7 separate regions of the Homo sapiens genome follow, and regions 2, 3, 4, 5, 6 and 7 are each linked to region 1. Evidence: promoter capture Hi-C in 16 types of primary human blood cells and fetal thymus (Javierre and others, 2016). All regions are on one chromosome and are shown on one strand. Each heading gives the region's core, a stretch centred on a gene start or on the middle of the fragment in contact. The rest is flanking DNA. Distances are from core to core; before and after follow the strand shown. Region 1 holds the start of CCDC182 (coiled-coil domain containing 182). Region 2 overlaps AKAP1 (A-kinase anchoring protein 1). Region 3 overlaps AKAP1 (A-kinase anchoring protein 1). Region 4 has its middle 59 kb from the start of AKAP1. Region 5 has its middle 76 kb from the start of AKAP1. Region 6 has its middle 74 kb from the start of MSI2. Region 7 has its middle 58 kb from the start of MSI2.

Region 1 (3,514 bases), core at 752-3,251:
CTCCAGCGCTCCAGGCTGAGTGACAGAGAGAGACTCTGACTCAAACTAACAAAAAACAATGACAACAAAAAAACTGTCTAAAGTTAAAGTAGGGTTGCAGCCCTTCGTGGTAGATGGCTATTGGATGGGTATTACAATTAACCATGGGTCACGGGGTCCTTTTGGGAAGCGCAGCTTGGGAGTTCCAGATGTTTAAATCTTATTTGGAGAGATTCTATGACAGAAGGAAGAGGGAGAATGAGACTGCCACAGAAGATCAGAGGATATGGAATCTGCTGTAAGCCCAGAACTGGAAAGACAGACTTGACTTTCTGTTGAGGCACTGGCTCTGGTCTCCAGGCACGTCTCTTCTGCTGTTTAGAGGAGAATCCCTGCTGCATGGCAGCATTTGGGTAGCCAGAGAGAAGATATATGAATTGATGAAGTAGAAGACTAATTGGAAATAAAAGGTATAGTGTCAGCTAATGAACTCCCAAGTCACCCATGTGACAACCTCAGCCTTCCAGAAGAACACGTCCATGAACAGCCTGAAGTGGTTCCAAAACTGGGGAGCAGAGAAGGATGCAGCAGGATGCAAATGAGCACAGCTGACCTGGACTTAAACCATGGCCCTGCCACTTACTAGTGTGCAGACCTTGGGTACTGGACTTGCCTTCCTGCGGCCAGTCTCCCAGTGTGAACCATGGAAAATCAACACTCACCTCCAAGGTGCCTATGGAAGTAAGTGGGATGGTATGTGTGTGTTGCCTGATAAATGGCCAGGCACTGTGACAATAATTCCTGCTCCATGGATCGAACACAGAAATCAGTTTCCCCACTTCCTAGTGCCATCTCAGAGGTGTTGCATTATCGGTTGCTAAAGCTCAGCGAGTTCCACCCACACAGTCCCAATAAGCTCTGTCATTCCGATTGGCCAGTCTGCAGTCTAAATGGAAAGGAAGTAGAGGTAGAAAGAGGCAGCAAAGAAAAGTGAGATGTGACAGTCTAAGAGTAGAGGCAGACAGAAAGACCATACAGACAAGGGTTAGAATACTAAAAACAGAGCAATCTGGGGTAGTGTTAGTGCACGGGCAAGCAGTCCGACCCCTCTGGGGAGATCATGTGTTACGTGATGTGGTATCAGTTGACCAGGTGTTAAGTCTCAAATCATGAAAGCCTCAAATCATTCAAAAAAAAAAAGGTGAATGTTCAACACAATCAGTTTAAGAATATACTATACAAATAAAGAGGTATACATTGAGCAATAGTACCATTACAAACAGGAAAACAGTTCAAGTGAAAGTTACAGGGGCCTGACTCAGTACTGGGGTGCCTCCTTCCTTTAGAATGCTGGATAAATGGAATTTCACCAAAAAAAATATTGAAGTCTTTTTGCCTCTCAGCAAGGTGTTATTTAGGCAGAAGGAAAGCAATGGAAATGAGGAAGGGAAAGCAAGGGGGTAGGGACTTGGGGTTTCTCCTTCCGTTAAAAAAAATCTTCAACTTGGTGCTTGGCTAGTGCCACCCACGAGGTTCAGTCAGCCTGGCTCTTCTTGGTGGCACGCAGGGCGTCACGTCCCCTGTCCAGCAGCAGGTCCTCCAGCCGCTTGCAGTGCTCCCGGAGCTGTTTCTCGCGCGGCAACAGGAAGGTGAGAACCTTGTTGCGCACGATGCCACGGTCCTCCTCCTCCCTTAGCCGCTGCCTCACGCGAGCCGCCTGCTCCTCCTGTTGCACCAGGGCTCCATTCATCTCGCAGAAGGCGTCTTCAAGGTAATGAATGGACTTCAATGCCTCTTTCTTAAAGTCCTCCAGTTCCCGTTGCACCCCGGCCACCTTCTGCTGCAGGATCTCCAAGTCAGCGGGTGGTGGGAGGCAGGAGGGCCATGACTGGGACAGGGAAAAGTCTCCAGACTGGAGGCCACTCTCTATCATTTTTTTCCCCTGTAGGGTATTCACCGTCATGAGAATGGACCCAGCCTGGTAGAGGGGTTCCATTGTCTCTTCTACGTTGGACAAAGAGAGGAAGCCAAGAGACCAACCAGGTCAATAAATATTTTTGGCTAGAGACACGATCATTCGGAGTGGAGAAACCCTAGAATTGTGACATCAGGGCCCCTTCAGCCAACCAGAAAGAAAGCCACAATCCATTCATTTGCATATTGTAGCTTCCTTGGTTGGTTACCTAGAGCTTTGTCTGTTTATCTGACCAAGTCGCCCTCCTGAGATGTGGATCCTTAACTCATCACCCTTCTAGAACCAGAACTCAAGTTCTTCTTTAACCTAAGGAACAAACCAAGTCCCAGAGCAGGGAAGTAAACTGGCCAGAGCAAGGCAGGCCAGGCCAGGCTCACTGGCTGCCAGGACTGGGTGGTCTCCCACACTGGCAAGGGACCTGCATGGTCTTGGACTGGTCTCTGGGCTTTAGTACCTCACTAGTAAAACAAAGACATTGTAAGAGATGATACCTAATCCCACTTGTAGCTCTAAAATGCTAAAAAGTAATCTCTTATTCCAAGTCCATACTCCTATAATGATGTCAGAATTCTATAAAATCTTAGAAATTGCGAAAAATGTACTTAGATTTTGATGTATGGTCCACAGCAATGGCTGATTCAGCAGGTGCAAGGTAAAAATGGGTTAGTCATATTTATTCAATAAATACTAAGTGCTCACTACACACTAGGATCAGGGAACAAGTGAGTGCATGGTCTTCCAACATACCTGAATGTTAACAAATATGAGAAACAACACATAGAAAGGTAAATCTTGTACTTTTTACCTGATAATTAGAACAAAGGAAAATACTTCTAGCTAATCTACATTTGGTTTAGTCAGGAACAAACCTTCATCTTGCACATCTCAGTCTCTTGCCTAGACTTCTCTCCTGGTCTCCAAATCTAAACGTCTCCCCCACAATGGGCCTCCAATTCAAGCCATCCAAAGCTGAATTGGTGATCTCTTTACCCAAACCAGTTCCTGTTCCAGTGTTGCTGTCAGATTAATGAGAGCAACCCAGAACAGCACACACACCAGAGCCCTCATGAGACAACTGGTGCTGTGATGCTAATATTTGTCCCCTCCCAAACTCATGTTGCAATTTAATTACCATTGTAACAGGATTATGAGGAAGGACCTTTAACAGATGATTAGGCTACCCTTTAAGAGATAAATGGATTAACACTGTTATCTTGGGAGCAGGTTCCTTATAAGTGGATAAGTTCAGCCCCTTTATGTCTCTCTCTCACCCTCTCTTTGCCCTTCTACTATGTGATGTCTTCTGCTGTGGAATGACACAGCAAGAAGGCCCTTGCCAGATGCCAGCATTTTGATTTTGGACTTCCTAGCCTCCAGAACTGTAAGGAAATACATTTCTGTTCTTTATAAATTACCCAGCATCGGGTATTTTACTATAGCAGCACACAATAGACTAAGAAACTTAGGATCAACCTAGACCCTTCCATGTCAAAGTGGCTCTAAGTCCTGTTCAATCTACCATTGCCAAGCACTCTAGCATCAAACCACCTGGGTTAGAGT
Region 2 (3,514 bases), core at 757-3,256, 650 kb before region 1:
TCAAGCCTTATAAGGCCCTCTGTTGCCTATGGTTTATGTTGGCTGGAGAGCAAGGTTGTTTTTTGCAAAGTCTGATTCAAAGAAGTGGCAAGGGCTTACGTAGGCTGTGTGTGTCCGCCTCCTGGGGCTGGACTGCCTTATTGGAACAGGTTCCTTTGAGGGAGCCTGAGAGTAAGGGGGGCTTATTATCCCTTACCCTTAGTGGTGGCTCTGTAAGGCTAATGTGTGGTGTGGCCACAGGGCTTCCTGGCAAGTGTATTCGCTGAGAACTTAAAGGTAAAAGCAAGCCCCTGTTTACCTACACAGTGTACCTGTCATGCTACCAGCCACAGAGGCATCCTGTTTCAGGAATCAAGTCTGGAAGCAGCTTCTGCTTATTAATTAAGAACTAAAGCCCCTTGGCTCTTCAGGCACATCGCTTTCCCCTCTGGAGAAAGTTTGGTGGACCGTGTCCCTTGGGGTTCTTGCGAGTCCGACTGGCCTTCCGCGCAGTGATGTTGGAGAGCCCTTTTTCTGAGAGCCATGCTCTGCCTCATCTTCACCTCCCCTCTTGCTACCTCTTGAGTCAGCCAAGCCTGTTCCTGCCTTAGGACTTTGGCACATGTTCTTCCTGCCTGGAACTTTCTCCCCGCTCTCCTCCTGCTTCCCCCCAGATCTTGGCACAGTTCTCAAGTGTTCCAGTTCTGATGCCACCTCTTCCAAGAGGCATTCCCGCCTCATTCTGTCTGCAGCTTCCCCTTCCAAGTGCTCCATCCAGCCTTTCTCATTTCAACCACAGCACACAGAAAAGGACTAGGTGACCGTTCCTCAACTCTCCCAGCTGGTGCCCTGCTACACGCACAGGGATATAGGTAATTCATCACATGCAAGGGCAGCCTTAGGGCTCAGTTCTCTCAATCAGTTGAGAGAGGCTGCAGGTCTTTATATTTAAGTCGCGGAATCTTTGCAGTATCTTACCTGTAATTTGACTCTCTACCCTTCCTTCCACCTTTGCTTCCTGAGGGATCTCTTTGCCTTATGTGCCCAGCGAACTTGGCTCACAGTGCGTGTTAAACTCTTTGTTAAATGACTGGCCCTGAGAGGTCCAGCCATCTGATGCTGGCTAGCCCTCAATGCCTTGCTTCCAGAGGGATCTAACCTGTCAATAAGCATGCTCTCTTTTTGATATTACTATTATGTCAGCTGGGCAGCTGGGGGTCTCTGAAGCAAAATTGGCATCAATTATTATAGGAAAATAAGGCCTTACAAGTTTGTACACAGATGAGTTGACATTAATGCAAATTTAGGATGGTTAATAAGAAACATAAAGCTGTGTGGTAATAGAGCATGCATTGCTACTTGTATGTATCTTAATAACGTGTTTTCTATCAAAACATTACTTGTAGAAAGGATTTGGCTTTTGACTGTGTACAAGGCTTGAAAGGACAGTCCTTTGCCCACTGCCCCCCACCCCCATTACTTTCAATTCTTCCAGCTGTCCCCACCATTGTCAGTAGTATTATTTTCTTTCTTTTTAAGGATTATTATCTGATTTGTTTTTCTGCTGTGGGAGATAGGATTTAGCTCGTTCCTATGCTTTTTTCTTCCCTCATCATCCCAGTGTAGAGATAGCCCAAGTTTTGGTCAAGTTGATCTTCAGAATATACATTATTATAATATGAACCTTGTTTATGGCTGCAAGGTTTTTAGTTTCCCATATTTCTTCTTTTCCTTCATTTTCTTCTTCTCCTCTCCTAGTTAATTTCCTTAGTTTCTTTTGCTTAATTTTCTGTCTCTCTCACCAGTTCCCTGACCACCTCGCAGCCTCCACCATTGCTGTGGAATGCCTGTCATTGGGGGAAAGTGGCTCTCACTGTGGCTCCACATACCAGGTACTCGCAACGGTTCCACGTTTCTCCTGGGCGCATCCCTTTTCCCTGGCTCTGCTTCCCCTTCAGCCTTGGAATTCCCTCTCCCCTTCTCTTGTCTCGTTTCTGGATCCAGTGCCCCTCCTTTCTTGGTTGATTTCCTTGTCTTGGGGGAGCCCATCGTTCAGTAGCTTGCTGAGAAGGTGTGCGTGGTTTGTGGCCCACAAGAAGCCAGCCGATCCATGCAGGGACAGGCACCTTTGAAGGCATGGATTGGGCCTTCAGTTGGGTGGCTGAAGTCAGCAGACAACTAGGCCTGTGGAGCCCTTCCGCCAGGCCAGGCCAGCAGAAGGTCTGGCTTCACTTTTTAGAGAAGTTATAAATGTGGCGATCTGGATTTGGGTACCAGGGAGTGGTGAAAATGGGTCCCCCCCAACTTTTTTTTTTTTTTTTTTTTTTTAAAGACAGGTCTCACTGTCCCCCAGGCTGGAGTGCAGTAATGCCATCATAGCTCACTGCAGCCTTGATTTCCTGGGCTCAAGTGATCCTCCCACCTCAGCCTGCTCAGTAGCTGGGACAAGAGGCATGTACTACTATGCCCGACTAATTCTTTTAAATTTTTTTTTGTAGAGATGAGGTCTCACCACATTGCCCAGGCTAGTCTCGAACTCCTGGGCTCAAGTAATCTTCCAACTTCCCAAAGTGTTGGGATTACAGGTGTGAGCCATCGTGCCTGGCTGAAGATGGGTCTTGAATGAAAGTCTATATATTGAATGGGGCATCCCAACTCTCCTTGGCTCCCATAATGCTGGCATTCAGGCTTATATTCTCTCATTCCTACCCCAAGATACTAGAACATTCTAGTCTGAGGACACTGGCACCCCATTTTCTGTTCCTCCTTCACCCCTAACAGGGCACTTCCATGTCCTATGGACAAAACTTTCAGTTGGTCAGTAGCAGAGAGTGGCAGTAACAGGCCCACTGGAGAAAAGGTCATTGCTTGTTTTTTGAGACAAGGTGTCACTCTGTTGCCCAGGTTGGAGTGCAGTGGTGCGATCTCGGCTCACTGCAACCTCTGCCTCCTGGGTTCAAGCAATTCTCCCACCTCAGCCTCTCGAGTAGTTGGGACTACAGGTGTGCGCCACTATGCCTGGGTAATTAAAAAAAAATTTTTTTTTTGTAGATACAAGGTCTCACTATATTGCCCAGGCTGGTCTTGAGCTCCTGGCCTCAAGCAATCCTCCCGAAGTGTTGGGGATTGTAGGCGTGAGCTACCGTGGTGGCCTGTTTGGGCTTTTTTTTTTTTTTTTTTTTTCTTCTGCCCTCCACTACTCCCCGCCAAGACTGAAAGTGCCTCGAGGGCAGTGCCTTGCCTGATTAATTTGTGTCCCACCATGCTTTTCTCTGTGAGTGCCAGTAATTATTTGTTGAATAGAAATTACCTTCTATGCTTTTATGTGATTTCTGGGGTGGTCGTAGTTCACTGTCTGCCATTAGGAAGATCAGGGTCTTACCTCTTTGGTTTTGCCCATGTGAGGTGCTGCGAAGGGTTTCTTGCTGCACACCAACATCTTTTCTGATGTCTTTACTGGCTTTTAAGTCAGGTTGTTGTCAGATTGCCATTTCATACTTTTTGGGCAGTTTTGTGTAATGTCTTCTGTGGTCGT
Region 3 (3,514 bases), core at 406-2,905, 630 kb before region 1:
GGTTTGGATGGCGCTTGTTCTTTCTTCTGGTTGAGTCAGGCCTTAACAGTGGCCCTGGTGAAGGATCTCCTTCCCCTTCCCCTCCCCAGGAGGTGCCTAAATTACAAAGAAGAATGAATACTCCCCACCAGGCCCGGAAGTCCAGTGACTCTTGGGAGGTTGCCCCAGGAGTTTGGCAGAGGGAAGAGCTGCTATCTCCAGGGCCCCTGTGTGCTGCTGACTGCAGGGTCTCTCAGGGCCGTGGCCCATATCCTGCCGTGTGCCTCTGGCCCTGGTTGGGTCTTATCTCACTGGGAGTAGAATTGCAGAATTCTGTGGGCCAACGACTGTTGACTACGTTTTACACAGATGGACAGATGGGCTGACTATAGCTCCAAGGAAATTGTCCTCCTTCGTGTTTTTTTTTTGTTTTTTTGTTTTTTTATGGATGGTAGGCATTTCAGTTTTGTGTCTTCCCCTTTGCAAAGGCCCTTGGGCTGGAGGGAAAGGATTGGGATATCTTTTTCCTGTGGATATGTGAGAGTAGGCTGAATACCACTTTATGCTTTACTCCTGAATCAAGAGTTTTTTCCCAGGAGGCTCGGTCGTAGACTCACTCTCTTTTTTTTTTTTTTTTTTTTTTTTTTGAGACAGAGTCTCACTCTGTTGCCCAGTCTGGAGTGTAGTGGCATGATCTTGGCTCACTGCAACCTCTGCCCACCAGGTTCAAACGATTATCCTGCCCCAGCCTCCTGAGTAGCTGGGATTACAGGTGTGCTCCACCATGCCCAGCTAATTTGTATGTTTTTAGTAGAGATGGGATTTCACCATGTTTGCCAGGCTGGTCTTGAACTCCTGACCTCAGGAGGGTAAGCAGTAGGAGGGAGAGCAAATAGGAAGCAGACTCTGCTAGACCTTGACCATGGACCTGACCTGAGGCCACTGCTTGCTCTTGGGAGGGCAGCGTAGATGCTGTCAGACCATAGGCTCCTGGGGTTGTCTGCCAGTCCACAGGAGTTGGCTAAAGGGCCTGGGGCCTGCCTACTGCTTATTTTCAGGAGTCTTGTTCTCAGCGGCCACCTCATTCCTGTGTTGCCCTCCCTGGGTCTTATAGATTCATCAACAGAAGTGGGAGGGAGGGCACTGCTGGTAGGTGGACCCTGCCCAGGCCTGTGCAAGGCCCAGCACTACCTCCGCAGTTGCTTCTTGGTTGCCCAGTGTCTGTGGGACCCTCCCTGCCTGGCCCTGAGGTGAGACTGCCCCTAATGGCTGCTCGTGGTATTGCAGGACAACAGCCACAGGGGTGTCGAACACTTTCTGTTGTTAAAGTAGTCCTTCAACCTCTACCTTCTGGGTGCCATGTTGTCTTGAGTTGCCCTTTTCAAAGATATGCTAGCCCAGAGACTTGCCCTTGGGTCTCGGGACTTATTCAAAGATGAGATAAGAAGGATTGTTTCAGTGACCGCTCCCCCTTCCCCTCTACAGCTCATGCTGCCTGATGGCATCACCGTGGAGGTCATTGTGGTCAACCAGGTCAATGCCGGGCACCTGTTCGTGCAGCAGCACACACACCCTACCTTCCACGCGCTGCGCAGCCTCGACCAGCAGATGTACCTCTGTTACTCTCAGCCTGGAATCCCCACCTTGCCCACCCCAGTGGAAAGTAAGCAGTGCCCTGAGGGGTCGGGAAGGGGGACCCCTGGGGTTGCCTGTTCTGCCCTGGATCCTGATCAGGAGGAGGCTGTTCTGCGATCCTTCATGGAAGCAGCATCCTTCAATTCTTGCCATTGTTATGGAGCTGGGGTGGGTTTCCTGGCAAGGCAGAGCTGGGGTTTCCACTGGCTGGCAGAGTGATGGGTGTTGGAGTAGAGTTTTGACACAGGGATTCAGATCCCAGCTCTGCCACTAATTTTTTTTTTTAATTTTTTCTTTTTTTTTTCCCTCAAAGCCAGTGTCATAGTATCTGCCACCTATTTATTATCTGTTAAAGGGGGTGATACCCACTTGTTCCAGGAATTAGTGTTGAATACTGTATGTATTACATATAAAGCACTTATGCATATAATGGTTACCACAAAAAAATCCCCAAGTCCAACAAGCCTGTGCAGCGTGTTGGGTCATCTCCATTTAACAGATGAGAAAACTGGGCCTCAGGTGACTTGCCCAAGTGAGCAGGATCTGGGGTCTGAGCCCAGCCTTTGTCATTATTATCTTTGTTGTCCTTATCACAGAGGATGGAATGTCAGAACATCACCCATTCCTCACCAGGGGATGGCAGGGTCACTCAGTGCAGTAGAAAACCTTCTGAAGTGATCTCTGTAGCCTTTTGTGTGGATTTTTTCCTTTTGGAAGGATAAGGACTTAGTTTTCATTGGCTTCTCTAAAGTTGCCTTAACCCAGCAGTAAAGACTGAACTGGAGCCTGAGGGGTAACTGCCAGGGGTTCTCTCCAAGGGTCAGGACCCAGCACAGTCAGCCTCATGTCACAGGTCCTCATCCTGGCCAGCGTGGGCAGCTGTTGGGGTGCTGCTGGGAACGTTTACCTCCTGGTCTCGTCTGCCTCTGACCCACAGTGGGTTAGTGACTCCTTGATCCTGGGTGGCTGCCCAGGTGCTGTCAGCACCTTCCAGAGGCAAAGGCTAGAAGAAGGGGGTTTAGGCCCAGGAGGCCCCTTCTGGTCAAGCTCTCCAGCTGAGTTGTGGGCTGGAGCACACCCTAGGTATGAGGATGCTGAGATCTGCTGCACTTGATTTCTTCAGGGACTTTCTTTTAAATGTAAGGCTGGCCCTGGCCCCCATTCCCCGAGTGCTATATTTACTTGGTTTATTCCTATTCATCTGTGTCCCTCTTGGGTCCCAGAAGTTTTGGAGTAATGGATCTAGACTGAATGCTTCTCAGTCTGGATGGCCTCGGGGGCGGCACACTTGCTAGGCTGAACTTCTCACATCCAGGTTTTTCCCTCGGCTGGTCTTGGGCTTGGGGGAGGCTTTGCTTGGGGCCGGTTGCTGTTCCTGTCCCCTGCACTGTGGAGGTTGCAGGCCTCTGAGAGGTAACGCAGGGAGGTGGGTAGTGGCCAGGTGGCCCTTGGTGCCCTGCCCTGGCCCAGGCGTTCCACGCACTCTGCTCCCTACCCTGCAGTAACGGTCATCTGTGCCGCCCCTGGTGCGGACGGGGCCTGGTGGCGAGCCCAAGTGGTTGCCTCCTACGAGGAGACCAACGAAGTGGAGATTCGATACGTGGACTACGGCGGATATAAGAGGGTGAAAGTAGACGTGCTCCGGCAAATCAGGTGAGCGGAGATGCCTCAGGCAGGCCTACGCCCTGCTTGTTCTGGGATGCGTGATCTCTGCGTGGCTGGCTCAGTTGTGCCAGGGCTTGGGTGAGGGTTACTTCTTCCCTCCTGCTGCCTACTGTGTTTTAGCAGAGTCTGATAGAAACAAACTCGATTACTCGCTTAGCCAAACTGAGCTAGAAGGCCTGTATTGTGGAAGAATCCCCAGCATCATCCTTCAAAAGTGAAGCTGGGCCAGGCGTGG
Region 4 (3,514 bases), core at 538-3,037, 600 kb before region 1:
GCATGCGCCATTACACCTGGCTAATTTTTAAATTTTTTGTAGAGATGGAGTCTCGCTATGTTGCCCAGGCTGGTCTTGAACTTCTGGGCTCAAGAGATCCTCCTGTTTTGGCCTCCCAACAAGCAGGTGCTGGGATTATAGGCATGAGCCACTGTGCCCAGCTTCATTTATTTATTCAATAGATATCTATTAAACATAAACATGTTCCAGGCATTGATTAGGCACTGGGGATATATCAGTGAACAAAACAATAAAAAACTACTGCCTTTATGGAGCACACCATTATCCCAATTTTACACTGAAGGAGGCTGAAGCCCAGAGAGGCTAAGTGCCTTTTCCAAGTCCACACAGTGAGTATAGAGAAAAAGCATTCGGGTTGCTTTGTCTGATGACACACAAAATTCTCCCACACTGTCTGGGAACTGTTCCTGCCCACACCCAGTTCATTGAATGCTTCCTGCAGCAGCTGCTCTGGGTTCGTGACCCTGCTCCTGACCCTTGAGCCACACGGGGAACTTGGATTCCATTCCTTGTACTTGGGACCAGAGAAAGTACAAAGTCAGCTCGTGGAAACTGTAAGAGGCAAAACTTGGGAGCTGGTGGCTGCCATGTTTTCTTCCATATGGAGAATGATAATCTGGAGCAAGAGGGAAGAATGGAGCTAAGGACCAGAGAAAGGCAGAGATGCATAAGAGAGAAGCATCTGTAGCCATTTTGAGACCCAGCCCCATGCCTCTCCTTGAGTTCCTGGAGACACCCAATATCCTTATAACAAGCTTCCCTTTTTTGCTTAAACTTGCAACCAAAGGAATCCTAGTTAATACCGTGGGATATGGCAAGTACCTAGCGAGTGACTGCTGTAAGATTCTTTGAGCTCTTGCCACACCCTAGACTTGCTGTTTTGGCTTCTGGAGCTGAGAGTGTCCTGCTCTTAGATAACTTTGCAATAGATTCACTACTTCAGAGCATGTGACTGCAACCTAACTCTTAATAAATCAGACAGGAGCTTTCTGCATGGAAAAGAGCTTCTGCCATACATCATTTTTGTTTTCCTCTTGGGGAGAACAGCTATGCTACAGCAATAACCTGCCACGTATACATCTCAAAGCCCTATTTATATAGCCATATGGATAAATATATATAAATAGGACTCGGGAATAATAGATTAAAGGATCTGCTCATCCGTAGAAGACTTTATGGGGCTTTCAGGACCTAATGGTGGCCTGATTCAGTAAGAAAAATGGGTCTCTAGTAGGATGTGGCCAATAATTAGATGAGTCCATAACCTGACAGATGCTCACCTGGGAGATAGAGAGGTCGGGGGACCTTGTGAGGGGCCAGGGACTCCAACAGAATAAGCTGTAAGCGGGAACAGGAAGGGAACGGATGTGCAAAGTCATGAACTCTGAGCTGTCTTCCTAGCTCAGCTCCTGTTCTGTGTGACCTTGAGCAGGTCACTTGCCTTCTCTGAGCTTTAGTTCCTCATCTATAAATGAGGAATGTGGACGTGCTGACCTACAAGATTCTTTTTTTTTTTTTTTTTTTTTTGAGATTGAGTCTCACTCTGTGTCCCAGGCTGCAGTGCAGTGGCTCACTGCAGCCTCGACCTCCTGGGCTCAGGTGATCCTCCCACCTAAGCCTCCTGAGTAACTGGGACTACAGGCATGTGCCACCATGCCTGTCTAATTTTTGCATTTTTTTTTTCAGTAGAGACAGGGCTTTGCCATGTTACTCAGGCTAGTTTTGAACTCCTGGGCTCAAGCAATCTGCCTGCCTCGTACTCCCAAAGTGTTGGGATTATAGGCGTGAGCCACTGCGCCCAGCTGGTTCTTTTCTTCTCTGACATTAAAATGACTCTGAGGCCTATGATCATGGTCCTCTGGGTGGGGAAGGTTGGGAAGATCTCATCTGAGTTTAGCTTATCCCTAGGCCTTGACCAATCGCTGATGCTCCTTAAGGGTCTCCTACATTTTGGAGGCATATGCAGAAGGAACCTGAAGTCACAAGATCAGAGGTCCTGCGGCAGTTTAAATAACAATAGCAACAACTGCTACGACTACTTCTCCCATTATTCAGCACAACTGCAGCTGGGGGATTTAGGTTCATGGTCTGCAGCTAACATTTATTGCGGACTTACTCTGGGCCAGGCACCATTCCTTACGCTTTATGTATATTATCCTGCTTCACCCTCCCAACGACCCCAGGAGGTAGGTACTGTAGCTTCTACAGGAGGTAGAAGCAGAAGCACAGAAGCCTAGTGTGTGTCCCAGGCCACACAACCGGTAAGTGAGATTGTTAAGATGCCCCCGGGAGTCTGTCTCCAGAATCTGTGTTCCTCATCACTCCTGCATACTCCCCATTTACAAGGGCAGAAACTGAGGCTACAGGAGGTTAATTGATCTGTGAACAGCCAGGATCCTGGGAGTTCTCAGACCTGTCCATTTTGTGAGAAGGGAAAAAGTCTCGCTGCTCCTTGTGTTTCTTTCTGTTTTTCCAAGTCAGTCCATTTTTTTTCTTGTAACAAAAGTCTATTTACGGAAGAGACATATAGGACCCAAGATAACCATGCATCAGTCATGCTTCAGTGAACTCCCAAATCAAAGATGGGCTGGATAACGTGTACCCGACGCTCTTGGCTTTTTCAGCATTTCAGACGTTTTTGTTGTTGTTCCCTCTGTGGGTTGAAACCAGGCTTTTGTGACTTGATGAGGACACATTTTTCCTGGGGTGTAATAATGCCACTGGTGTTAGCCCTAATGCTGAAGAGAGAACATTTGCTATTTTGGAAGAGTTAATCCCAAAGCTTCTTTCTTTTGCTCCTGCCTTTAGAAAAGGCATTTCTGAGGCAGGTCCAGGCAAGAGTACTGCCTCTGTAATCCGCCCTCAATCATCTTAGCGCTAATCACCGAGCTTCATTGAGTACTTTGTAATGTGCCAAGCTGGGAGCTGAAGGCTGATTTGATTCTCTTAACATCTTCTGAACGGGTATAGCTGTTACCCCCATATTACAGATAGGGCACTGAGGCATGGAGCTTAAATGGCTTGACCAAGATGCCCCGGCAGCAAGGGGCAGAGCTGGGAATAGAACCCCGACTCCAGACATAGGCTATTAATGCCACAGTCTGCTACTCCAGGACTGACCATTACGTTTGTGGGGAGTGGGAGGGGAATGAAACTGCAGGGCCTCTTGTTCAACAAAGATTAAGACTTTAAGACTGCTGGGTGCAGTGGCTGAAGCAGTTTGGGATGCTGAGGTGGGAGGATCGCTTGAGCCCAGGAGTTCAAGACCAGCCTGGGTAACATAATGAGACCTCCGTCTCTATCTTTTAAATATAAAAAACTAAAAAATTAAAAATAAAAATAATGTAGGCCGGGCATGGTGGCTCACGCCTGTAATCCTAGCACTTTGAGAGGCCAAGGCAGGTGGATCACCTGAGGTCAAGAGTTCAAGACCAGCCTGGTCAACATGGCGAAACCCCGTCTCTACTAAAAATACAAAACTTAGCCAGGTGTG
Region 5 (3,514 bases), core at 286-2,785, 580 kb before region 1:
AAAAAAGCCAGGTGTGGTGGTGTTTGCCTGTAATCCCAGCTACTCAGGAGCCTGGGGAAGGAGAATCACTTGACCCCAGGGGACAGAGGCTGCAGCGAGCCGAGATTGTGCCACACACTCTGGCCTGGGTGACACAGCAAGACTCCATCTCAAAAAAAAAAAAAAAAAAAGGTGGGGCGCAGTGGCTCACGCCTGTAATCCCAGCACTCTGGGAGGCCGAGGTGGGTGGATCACGAGGTCAGGAGATCGAGACCATCCTGGGTAACATGGTGAAATCCCGTCTCTACTAAAAAAAATTAGCCGAGCGTGGTGGTGGGCGCCTGTAGTCCCAGCTACTTGGGAGGCTGAGACAGGAGAATGGCGTGAACCCAGGAGGCGGAGCTTGCAGTGAGCTGAGATAGCACCACTGCACACCAGCCTGGGTGAGACTGTCTCAAAAAAAAAAAAAAAACAGAAGAAATGGAGGTAAAATTTACATAACATAAAAATCACCATTTTAACCACTTTCAAGTATTGAGTTTAGTTTTTTTTTTTTTAGCATAATGCCATGTAACCATCACCATGATCTAATCTCTGAACATATTTATTACGCCTGAAAGAAACCCCATACCCGCTCCTCATTCTCTTACCCCTAGCTCCTGGCAAACAATAATCTACTTTCTATCTCTCTGGATTTGCCCATGGACATTTCATATAAATGGAATCATGCAATATGTGGCCTTTTCTTTCTGGCTTCTTTCACTTAGCATAATGTTTTCAAGGTTCATCCATGTTGTAGCATGTATTAATACGTCATTGCTTTTTATGGCTGAATAATGTTCCATTGTATGGATATACTAAATTTTGTTTATCCATTCATCAGTTGATGGGCATAGGGGTTGTTACCACATTTTGGCTATTGTGAGTAGTGTGCCTATGAACACCTGTGTACAAATTTTTGTTTGAACACTTGTTTCAATTATTTTCAGATATACAGCTAGGAGGTGAATTGCTGAGTCATGCGGTAATTCTACGTTTAACTTTTCGAGGAACTGCCACATGTTTTTCACAGTGGCTGAACCATTATACATTCCTACCAGCAATTTATTAGGGTTGCAATTTCTCCACATTCTCACCAACACTTGTCATTGTTTGTCTTTTTTATTATAGCCATCCTTGTGTGTGTGAAGTGATATCTCATTGTAGTTTTAATTTTCATTTCCCTGATGGCTAGTGATGCTGAGCATCTTTTTTATATGCTTGTTGGCCATTTATATATGCTCTTTGGAGAAATGTCTATTCAAGTTCTTTGTTCATTTTTCATTGGGTTGGTTGTTTTTGTTTTGTTTTCCTTCTTACAGATAGGATCTTGGTTTGTCACCCAGGCTGGAGTGCAGTGGCACAATCATAGCTCACTGCAGCTTCAAACTCCTGGGCTGAAGTGATTTTCCCGACTTGTCCTCCCAGGTAGCTGGGACTAGAGGTACACGCCACCATGCCCAGCTAATTTCTAAGTTTTTTGTAGAGACAGGGTCTCGCTTTGTTGCCCAGGCTTGTCTCCCACTCCTGGTTTCAAGTGATCCTCAAGCCTCAGCCTCCTAGAGCACTGAGATTACAGAAGTGAGCCACTGTGTCTGGCCTGTTTGTCTTTTTGTTGTTGACTTGTAAGAGGTCTTTATATATTCTGGATTCTTTATATGTTCTGGACTCATATCTATGATTTGTAAATATTTTCTCCCATTCTGTAGACTATCTTTTCAATTTCTTGACAGTGTTCTTTGAGGCACAAAAGTTTTAAATTTTGATGAAATCCAATTTATCTATGTTTTCTTTTGTTGTTTGTGCTTTTGGGGTTCTAGCTAGGAAAATTTTGCCTAATCCAAGGTCACAAAAATTTACACCTATGTTCTATTCTAAGAACTGGGTTCTTACATTTAGGTCTTGGATCCATTTTGAATTAATGTTTGTTTGTGGTATGAGGTGGGGACCCAGCTTTATTTTTTTGCATGTGGATATCTAGTTGTCTTGGCAACATTTATTGGAAAGACTATTCTTTCACCATTACATGGTCTTGGCAGTCTTGCCAAAAATCAATTGACAATAGATGTGTGGGTTTATTTCTGAACTCTCAATTCTATTTTTACCATTTATCCTTATGCTAGTATCACACTGGTTAGATTACTATAGCTTTGTAATATAGTTGTGTCCAATGTAGTTGTGTCACACCCCCACCTCCCCCAGCCCCCATTTAATTGCCCTGGCTAGAACCTCTAGTACAATGCCAAATAGAAATGGCAAGAGTGGAAGTGCTTGTCTACTTCCTGATCTTTAAGGGGAACGCCTTCAGTCTTTTGCCATTAAGTATGATGATGGTGGAGGCACTTTCATAGATGCCCTTATCAAGGTTGATGAAGGTTTCCTTCTTGTAGAGTATTTTCATTATGAAAGGGTGTTGAATTTTTTTAAGTATTTCTTCTGTGTCTATTAACATGGTCATATATTTTTTTCTTATTCTATTAATATATGAGATTTTTTTTCTTCTCGACACCAAATACATGGTATCTTTTCCAATACCACTTCTCAAGTTCTTTGACGCCAACTGCATGGCCAATAATCCAATTCAATTCTGATATGAACTATCCAAAGTTAGCCCAGACCCTAGAGGTTAAAGTCTCAGTCCCATAAGACTGCTCCCACTTCAGACACCAGCCATAAATGGAGTGACCAGGATACTCAAATTTCTTCCCCGCCGACTACAATTTTGGGAGTTCCAATCACCCCTCCCCAGGTTCAATAGTTGAATAGAATGACTCTCAGAACTCAGGAAAACACTATTTCCAGTTTGTTATAAAATATGCAACTCAGGAATAGCCAAATGGAAGACATGCATTGGGCAAGATACATGATTAAAAAACTCAGTAAATATTGATTGCATTAATGACATAAATGCCACTGCCTAACAACAGAGTATTTCTGAATATTTTAGTTGTGTATGTGTGGTTAATTGGTGGTGGTGGTGTTTCTACAGCATCTAAGGTGAATTGCCCCTAGTCATCACCGTCCTATATCTCAGTGTACCTGACTTGTCACAACCTCTTAGAAATGGCTGTCCAGGGGTTCATACAGGTGAGTCTTTCCTGGAGTCAAACCAGAGCTGACAACTATACATAAATCCTGTGACCTTGACCATTTTAACATTTGGACTAGCTAAATCAGACAATAGATCTTTACCTTCCAAATGTTCAGGCCTAAAATGTTAATGTCAACTCCTAAGTGCGTTGTGCATTAGAAAGCTACAAAGAGTTAATTCCAAGAAGCCATTCCTATTAATCTTGGTGTCTGGATAAAAACTAAATTTGGGACCTCAATTACCTGATCGCGTCCCATGTAGATTTCGCCGGCAGCAATATTGATGAGGGCAGCAATCATTTCTCCCACTTGGAAACACAATTGCAATCCCATCCTAAGCAATCTGTCCTTCAAGTGCATCTGGAAGTGGGCATTATTTTCTCTTTTGTTTTGTTGTAGAGAGAGT
Region 6 (3,514 bases), core at 732-3,231, 560 kb before region 1:
TACATCTTTGCTTTTTTCCCAATATTAAGGGAAAATATTCAATCTTGCACCACTGTGATGTTAGCTGTTGGTTTTCATAAATGCCCTTTATTAGGTTGAGAAAATTTCATGTTAGTCCTTGTTTGTGGAGGTTTTCTTTTTTAAAAAAAAATCATGAATTACTCTGGATTTTGTTATATACATCTTGTGCATTTATTGAGATGATCACATGGTTGTTATCCTTTGTAATTGTGAATTACATTGATTGATTTTTTTTTTTTTTTTTTTTTTTTTTTTTTGGAGACAGAGTCTCACTCTTTTGCCCCAGCTGGAGTGCAATGGTGTAATGATAGCTCACTGCAGCCTCGGCCCCCCCATGTGCAAGTGATCCTCCTGTCTCAGTGCTTTGAGTAGCTGGGACTACAGGTGTGCACCACCATGCCCAGCTAATTTTTATATTTTTTGTAGAGATGGGGTTTCACCATGTTGCCCAGTCTGGTCTCAAACTCCTGGGCTCAAGTGACCCACCCACCTTGGCCTCCCAAAGTGCTGGGATTACAGGCATGAGCCACTGTGCCCAGCCACATTGATTGATTTTTAAATATTAACCCTGCCTTGTATTCCTGGGATAAACCACATGTAGCCAGATGCATTTTTAAATGTAGTGATAGATTTAATTTGCCAATATTTTGTTTAGATTTTTAATTTGTTTCAGACAGGGTCTTGTCACCCAGGCTGAAGTGCAGTGGTGCAATGGTGTGATCACAGTTCACTGCAGCCTCCATTTCCCAGGCTTAAACAATCCTCCTACCTCAGCCTCCCAAGTAGCTGGGACTACAAATGTGCACCACCATGCCTGGCTAGTTTTTTTTTTTTTTTTTTAATTTTTAGTAGAGACAAGGTCTCAGTATGTTCCCCAGGCTGGTCTCAAACTCCTGAGCTCAAGCAACCCTCTTGCCTTGGCCTCCTAAAGTACTGGAATTATAGGCAGCAGCCACTGTGGCTGGCCTTTGTTTAGGATTTTTGTCTATGTCTATGTTCATAAATGATTTTGGTTTAAAATTTTCTTTTCCTTATAATGGCCTTGTGAGAATTTGATATCAGGTTTCTGCTGAGTTGGGTATTATTGGGTGTTATTTTATCTTCCTCAGTTCTCTGGAAACATTTGTATAACATTAGTATTATTTATTTTCAAAAATTTTAATAGGATTCACCAGTGAAGGCATATGGACCTGTAGTTTTCTCTTTTTTTTTGAGACGGAGTCTCACTCTGTCACCCAGGCTGGAGCGCAGTGGCGCCACCTCGGCTCACTGCAAGCTTCACCTCGCAGGTTCACGCCATTCTCCTGTCTCAGCCTCCCAAGTAGCTGGGACTACAGGTACCTGTCACCACACCCGGCTAATTTTTTTGTATTTTTAGTACAGACAGGGTTTCACCATGTTAGCCAGGATGTTCTCATCTCCTGACCTTGTGATCTGCCTGCCTCAGCCTCCCAAAGTGCTGGGATTACAGGCGTGAGCCACTGCACCCGGCCATGGACCTGTAGTTTTCTTTGTGAAAAGGTTTTAAATGATGAATTCAATTTGTTTTTGTTTTTGTTTTTGTTTTTGTTTTCAGATGGAGTTTCACTCTTTTCACTTAGGCTGGAGTGCAGTGGTGCAATCTTGGCTCACTGCAACCTCCGCCTCCCAGGTTCAAGTGATTCTCCTGCTTCAGCCTCCCGAGTAGCTGGGTTTACAAGTGTGCGCCAACACACTCAGCTAATTTTTGTATTTTTAGTAGAGATGGGGTTTCTCCATGTTGGCTAGGCTGGTCTTGAACTCCTGACCTCAGGTGATCTGCCCGCCTTGGTCTCCCAAAGTGCTGGGATTACAGGCGTGAGCCACCACACACAGCTGATGAATTCAATTTTTAACAAATATAGGATGATTCATATTTTTTATTCCTTCTTGGATCAGTTTCAAAAGTTTTCTTTTTCAAAAAATGTTTTCATTTCCTCTAAGTAATTGAATGTATTGTTGTAAGTTATAGTTAAGATGGACTAACAGGAACCAGATTTGCCCTTCTGCCTGGAGTGACTAAAAAAAATAATAATAAATAAATAAATAAAGTAGAATATCAGGCAACAATGGCTAATGACAGTTGAGGTTAGGGAGTCAAATAAGATGAGCTTCCTACAATTGCCCCAGCTCTTTGCCTAGAGACAGATTCCAGGCCTCAGAATAGGGAGGGAAAACCCACATGGAAGCCAGCAGTTTCCCTGAATTGAGGATATGGAGCTGGGATCCTGGGGAGGCCAAGGTAATTAGAGTTTATAGGACAGAGTATTAGGGAGAATAGAGCTTGGATAGGGGTGGGAGATCAGGAGGCGAGGGGAAAGGGAACTGGAGGAGGAGGGAGGGGAAGAGAGTTCTGGAGACATTTGGAGAACTCTCCTTGAGTCTTCAGCTAAATACCTGTCAGTGCGTGCATGTGAGAAAACCATGCAGAACTGAAGAAAGAACAACTGAAGAGCATCAGAGAGAACGACGCCCCAAACTTACGCAGGACTGGGAATAATTCCTGTTTCTGCCAGAATAGAAAGCCTCATGATTCAGAGAGAGTCCCCAGTTAGTGTCCTCAGAAGAGTTTTGCCTCAAATAATGGTACAAAATTAGCCCAAAATGCTGCTTTAGTCTCACCTGACAAAGCTTAATACCTGAAAGAATCAAACTGTCTCTAAGTAACTTAATCATATCACAGGACAAAGGCCAAGAACATAGAAAGAGAAAAATGGGTAGTAATTTTTCATTACATTCTTGGTATTGTGACTGATGTATCATAGCGACTCTGGATTTTAAAAATGTTTTTCTAAAGAGTGTTGAATTTTTTGGGGGTGGGGGCAGGTAGCTAAATTTTTGATGGGTCACCTCACTCTTGTTGAGGTTTGGTTTTAGTTTTTGTTAAGGTGGATCTATTTCAGTTTCACCCTTATTCCTAGGCCAAGCACCTGCTCCTAGGACATGGTCCTTATTTCTACAACGAGGTCTTTCTGGGGGGTCTCTACTGAAGGCCCTGTGTGTCTTGGCTCTGTCTGGGTCAGAATTCCAAAGACTTGCCAGTATTCTTTTTTTCTTTTTTTTTTTTTTTTTTTGAGACAGGGTCTTGCTCTGTTGCCCAGGCTGGGGTGCAGTGGTGCAATCTCAGCTCACTGCAACCTCTGCCACCCAGCTTCAAACAATTCTCTTGCCTCAGCCTCCCAAGTAGCTGGCATTAAAGGTGCCCACCACCACACCTGGCTAATTTTTGTATTTTTAGTAGAGATGGGGTTTCACCATGTTGTCCAGGCTGGTCTTGAACTCCTGGTCTCAAGTGATCCACCCACCTCGGCCTCCCAAGTGCTGGAATTCCAGGCATGAGCCACAGTGCCCGGGGATTTCAATCCTTGAAATCTCTGTTCAACTGTCAGCCCTTCGTCAGCTGTTCTCTACCAGACCTTGTGAATTACCACCCTGGGCACAAGCAGCTCAGGATTTGTCCAGGTGCTTGAAGGGA
Region 7 (3,514 bases), core at 739-3,238, 550 kb before region 1:
GAAAAGAAGCAGCATTCGTGAGGTGGCTAGATTCCCTGATCAATCCACCCCACCCCATGGTGATACAATAAAAAAAAGAAAAGTTGCTTCTTAGGCTGGGCATGGTGGCTTGCGCCTGTAATCCTAGCATTTTAGGAGGCCGAGGCAGGTGAATCGCTTGAGCTCAGGAGTTCGAGACTAACCTGGGCAACATGGCGAAACTCCGTCTCTACAAAAAATACAAAAATTAGCCAGGTGTGGTGGCGTGCACTTGTACTTCCAGCTACTTGGGGGGCTGAGGCAGGAGGATCGCTTGAACCTGGGCGGTCAAGGCTGCAGTAAGCTATCACACCACTGCACTCTAGCCTGGATGACAAAGTGAGAACCTGCCTTAAAAAAAAAAAAAGAAGTTTCTTCTTACTGAAAAGTCAATGTGGCAATTATTGCTGGTTACTTACCCAATAGCTGTTCCTTACTGCCCCCACACACTTTGCTTTCTTCCAGGCTAACAGAACCCTAATTTGGTTTCAGTACAAGTAGCAATGCGTTTTGGCAAGATAGGACCCTCCATTTCCCCAGAGAATGAACTGTGACTGGTCCAAGGTAACCACTGTACTCCCTTTTTCCTGTGGTAATGACTGGTTTCAGGGTGGACATGTGACCTAATTCTGGCCAATAATACTAAGAGGGAGTCTGCCAGGGGCTTCTGGGAAAGATTTCTTCTTGATAAAAAAGAGAGGTGAACTAAGAGAATCCTTCATCCCTTCCTTCCTGCTTTTAGACTTTATTTCTAGATGAAGAAAAGTGATGTTTGGAGATGTCGCAGCCATCTCATCACCACAAAGGGAGGGCTAAGAGAATCTCTCAGAAATGGACCCGAGCCCTGACATTGTGATGCTGAGCCAGCCTGGAACCAGGGATGGAGTGTAGCCGGAAGTATGATCCAGCAGCAATGGTTGTTTAAGGCTAGGCTTTATTCTGACTGGTCAGGCTTCGGTTCTCATTTGTCAATGTCTGGGACAGATTGGTTGTTAAGTATTTCGAATACCCCTTGGTTGGAATCAGTGCCTCTGGATTTATTGGTATGTAATGAAAATAAACACTTTTTTAAAAAGCACTTAACTGGATATTCAGTTACTTGCAGCCAAAAGCTTTCTAACTACATAGTTTGGGTTCACAGAACCCAGTCACATCTGAACTGCATCTGTGGGGACTTCACTTGCACAGCTTTGGGGGACTGCAGCCCTGTTAGCATCTATCTCATTCCTTCCTCACCACCACTCCCGCCCCCTACCCATTGTTAGGTAGCAATAATGTCTTTCTGTGTTTATTTTTTATATCAGGTGGTGGTGGGAGGGTAAAGGCAAACTGTCTAATATCTGTGGCCTGGAAGAGAAAGCTATTGTAGCTCTATCAGTGTACTGTATCTGCTCTTCATGGAAGAGTCGAGATAGAAATTTATCCTCTCTGGCAGAATGTAGGAGATTTAGCTAACTTCTACCTAATCTATCCATTTGCTCTTTTGCTATACCATTTGATTAGCCATATTGATAATGTCTTTTTTAGGAATGAGGCTTGGGTAGCCATCAGTCAACCAGTCAACCAATCAATCTTGTTGATGCATGCCATCGGTAACAAGAGAAGACTTCAGGGAGAGGGTCTAGGGGCACACTCGCTGCTTTGCATTGTAATTTTTTTTTCTGTGTCCATCTTCCCTGTTAGACTATGAGCAATTTAATGGCAAGAACGGTATCTTCAATCTCTGTATTCCTAGGTTTAGCACAGTATCTGGCCCATACAGGGTGCTTAATAGATGATTTGTTGAAAGAAAAAAAATAATGAATCACATATGAAATTATTTTAAAATGCACGTTCTACCAAGACAAGATGATTTTTATGGACACAGAAACACCTTCCTATGTGGCCAGCTTAAAAAAAGTTCTAATTAGGGATATTGGAATATCTTATCCCATTTTAAAACCAACACATTCAGAAATACAATCAAAGGGAATCAGCCTATCTTTCCACATGCTTTTTGTGGCACAGTTTGTGCCTAGAAAGCCTTTTTTTAATGGGAAAGATGATGTTTCTTAAAGCATCTCCTACTAAATATGGTGACAAGAAATGGAAATATCATTCTCAGGGTTAAAAAAGATTTTTCATGAATTCACTAAGTAGTGTGTTTGAACTAACTTTAAAAGCTGACTTCGACAAACTAGATAAAATATACTTCTATCTCTGCTAACCATCTTTCAACATGTCAGCTCATCTGAGGCCTCCCTGAGATCCATGAGAGACAGCGTGTAAGCTGTTCTTTAGATGGCCATCTAAAAACTCATCAAATAGCAAGGTATGAAAAACAAAATCACCTCCAAAACGTTCAAATTGCATTGATCTGTGGCATAAAACCCTCACCACAGGAAGAGAAATGATGGATTTGAGACCCGCAGGAGGATTCGTTTAAAGTGCTTTGTGTTGTATGTGTGTGTGTTTTATTTTAATTTATGTATGGAATTGCCCGGGAGTAGTAAATAGACTTTATTTGCTATATTTCGAGGAAGATAAAATTATCAGGACTGTCTATGTATTTCAAAGCCAAGAAAAACAAAAACAGCTTTGAAGCGTCTCCTGGATTTTTTTGTCCTAATCTTCTAAGAGATGGTCTTGATAATGTTTATTCTTTTCTTCTTTCTAAACTGATTGAAAGTACCATTTTTCTCAGTTAAAATAGCAATCTGATTCTTAACTAGGTCAGGTAAAGTACCCATTGAGCAGCACAGATTATTTAAACGATTGCAAAAGGGCAGGTAGGAATTTCTGAATAGCATTGCCACACTTCTTTCCAAATCTCTCTCCTCTCCTTCTCTCTAAGCTTGTGTGGCTCCCACCGGGAACACACCCTGGTCTTTGAAGGGTGGGTTTTTCATTTGAATTCATACCCACCATCTGGACAAGTTTTTCTGCTGCATTTCCCCTATAACCCAAAGAGTGAAGCCATTTTCCATCTGCTTGGAGATAATGTGTGGAGTTTTTCTTTCCATTGGTGGGCATGGGGAAGGAGATACGCACACTGTATTATAACGCAGCCAGTGATGATGGAGAGGCAGGGCTTTGGTTTAAATTTTACATACTCAGAAACATCCATTTCTGACAAAATCCCATCTTGTGAATCCCCCATAGCCTGGAGGAGCAATTGGCAAACTTTTTCTGTAAAGGGCCAGATAGTAAATATCTTAGGCTTTGTAGGACATTTGGTCTCTGTTGAAACTGCTCAACTCTGCACAAAAGTGGCCGTAAACAATATGGATTTGAATAGGCATGCCTGTGTTCAGTAAAGCTATGTACAGAACCAGACAGTGGGTCCTGGTCCCTGGCTCAGAGCATCTCTCCATGCTTCATGTTGGAGGCCCACATCTTGGTTTTCTGCAAGGTGGCATTCTATCTGCTCTCGTGAGGAGGGGGTGAGCCCAGCAATGGCTCAGATCCACTTAGGCAAGACCATACCGCCACCCTACCTGTGTCCCAGGACACACTT

What was found. The method cuts DNA at HindIII sites, captures the fragments that hold promoters and counts their contacts. A CHiCAGO score of 5 or more calls a contact.
Region 2: a contact is called between a fragment that was not itself captured here and the fragment with the promoter of CCDC182 in region 1, in 1 of 17 cell types (fetal thymus). The highest score is 5.9, in fetal thymus.
Region 3: a contact is called between a fragment that was not itself captured here and the fragment with the promoter of CCDC182 in region 1, in 9 of 17 cell types (erythroblasts, fetal thymus, megakaryocytes and 6 more). The highest score is 8.8, in erythroblasts.
Region 4: a contact is called between a fragment that was not itself captured here and the fragment with the promoter of CCDC182 in region 1, in 16 of 17 cell types (fetal thymus, megakaryocytes, erythroblasts and 13 more). The highest score is 17.8, in fetal thymus.
Region 5: a fragment that was not itself captured here is called in contact with the fragment with the promoter of CCDC182 in region 1 in 14 of 17 cell types (naive CD8 T cells, total CD4 T cells, erythroblasts and 11 more); the score reaches 10.5 in naive CD8 T cells.
Region 6: a contact is called between a fragment that was not itself captured here and the fragment with the promoter of CCDC182 in region 1, in 4 of 17 cell types (total B cells, megakaryocytes, total CD8 T cells and 1 more). The highest score is 7.5, in total B cells.
Region 7: a contact is called between a fragment that was not itself captured here and the fragment with the promoter of CCDC182 in region 1, in 5 of 17 cell types (total CD8 T cells, erythroblasts, naive CD8 T cells and 2 more). The highest score is 7.0, in total CD8 T cells.

What each region holds. Positions count from the first base shown.
Region 1 is chr17:57,743,298-57,746,811 of GRCh38, forward strand. It overlaps CCDC182 (coiled-coil domain containing 182), which reads right to left and starts at 2,002. Exons shown (of 1, transcript NM_001282544.2): 1 at 1,198-2,002. The coding sequence starts at 1,975. The coding sequence ends at 1,514. The HindIII fragment of the contact is 19,296 bases long and covers 1-3,514 here.
Region 2 is chr17:57,092,324-57,095,837 of GRCh38, forward strand. The region is part of intron 1 of AKAP1 (A-kinase anchoring protein 1); the gene reads left to right. Among named protein-coding and RNA genes, the nearest start is that of AKAP1, 8.8 kb to the left of the region's middle. RefSeq lists an enhancer at 561-1,060. The HindIII fragment of the contact is 4,020 bases long and covers 1-3,514 here.
Region 3 is chr17:57,112,995-57,116,508 of GRCh38, forward strand. AKAP1 (A-kinase anchoring protein 1) reads left to right here. Exons shown (of 11, transcript NM_003488.4): 6 at 1,465-1,642; 7 at 3,117-3,267. Among named protein-coding and RNA genes, the nearest start is that of AKAP1, 30 kb to the left of the region's middle. RefSeq lists a silencer at 1,074-1,368. The HindIII fragment of the contact is 9,490 bases long and covers 1-3,514 here.
Region 4 is chr17:57,142,675-57,146,188 of GRCh38, forward strand. No RefSeq gene overlaps it. Among named protein-coding and RNA genes, the nearest start is that of AKAP1, 59 kb to the left of the region's middle. The HindIII fragment of the contact is 2,027 bases long and covers 775-2,801 here.
Region 5 is chr17:57,159,814-57,163,327 of GRCh38, forward strand. No RefSeq gene overlaps it. Among named protein-coding and RNA genes, the nearest start is that of AKAP1, 76 kb to the left of the region's middle. The HindIII fragment of the contact is 6,765 bases long and covers 1-3,514 here.
Region 6 is chr17:57,180,746-57,184,259 of GRCh38, forward strand. No RefSeq gene overlaps it. Among named protein-coding and RNA genes, the nearest start is that of MSI2, 74 kb to the right of the region's middle. The HindIII fragment of the contact is 1,373 bases long and covers 1,296-2,668 here.
Region 7 is chr17:57,197,226-57,200,739 of GRCh38, forward strand. No RefSeq gene overlaps it. Among named protein-coding and RNA genes, the nearest start is that of MSI2, 58 kb to the right of the region's middle. RefSeq lists an enhancer at 1-10. The HindIII fragment of the contact is 1,721 bases long and covers 1,129-2,849 here.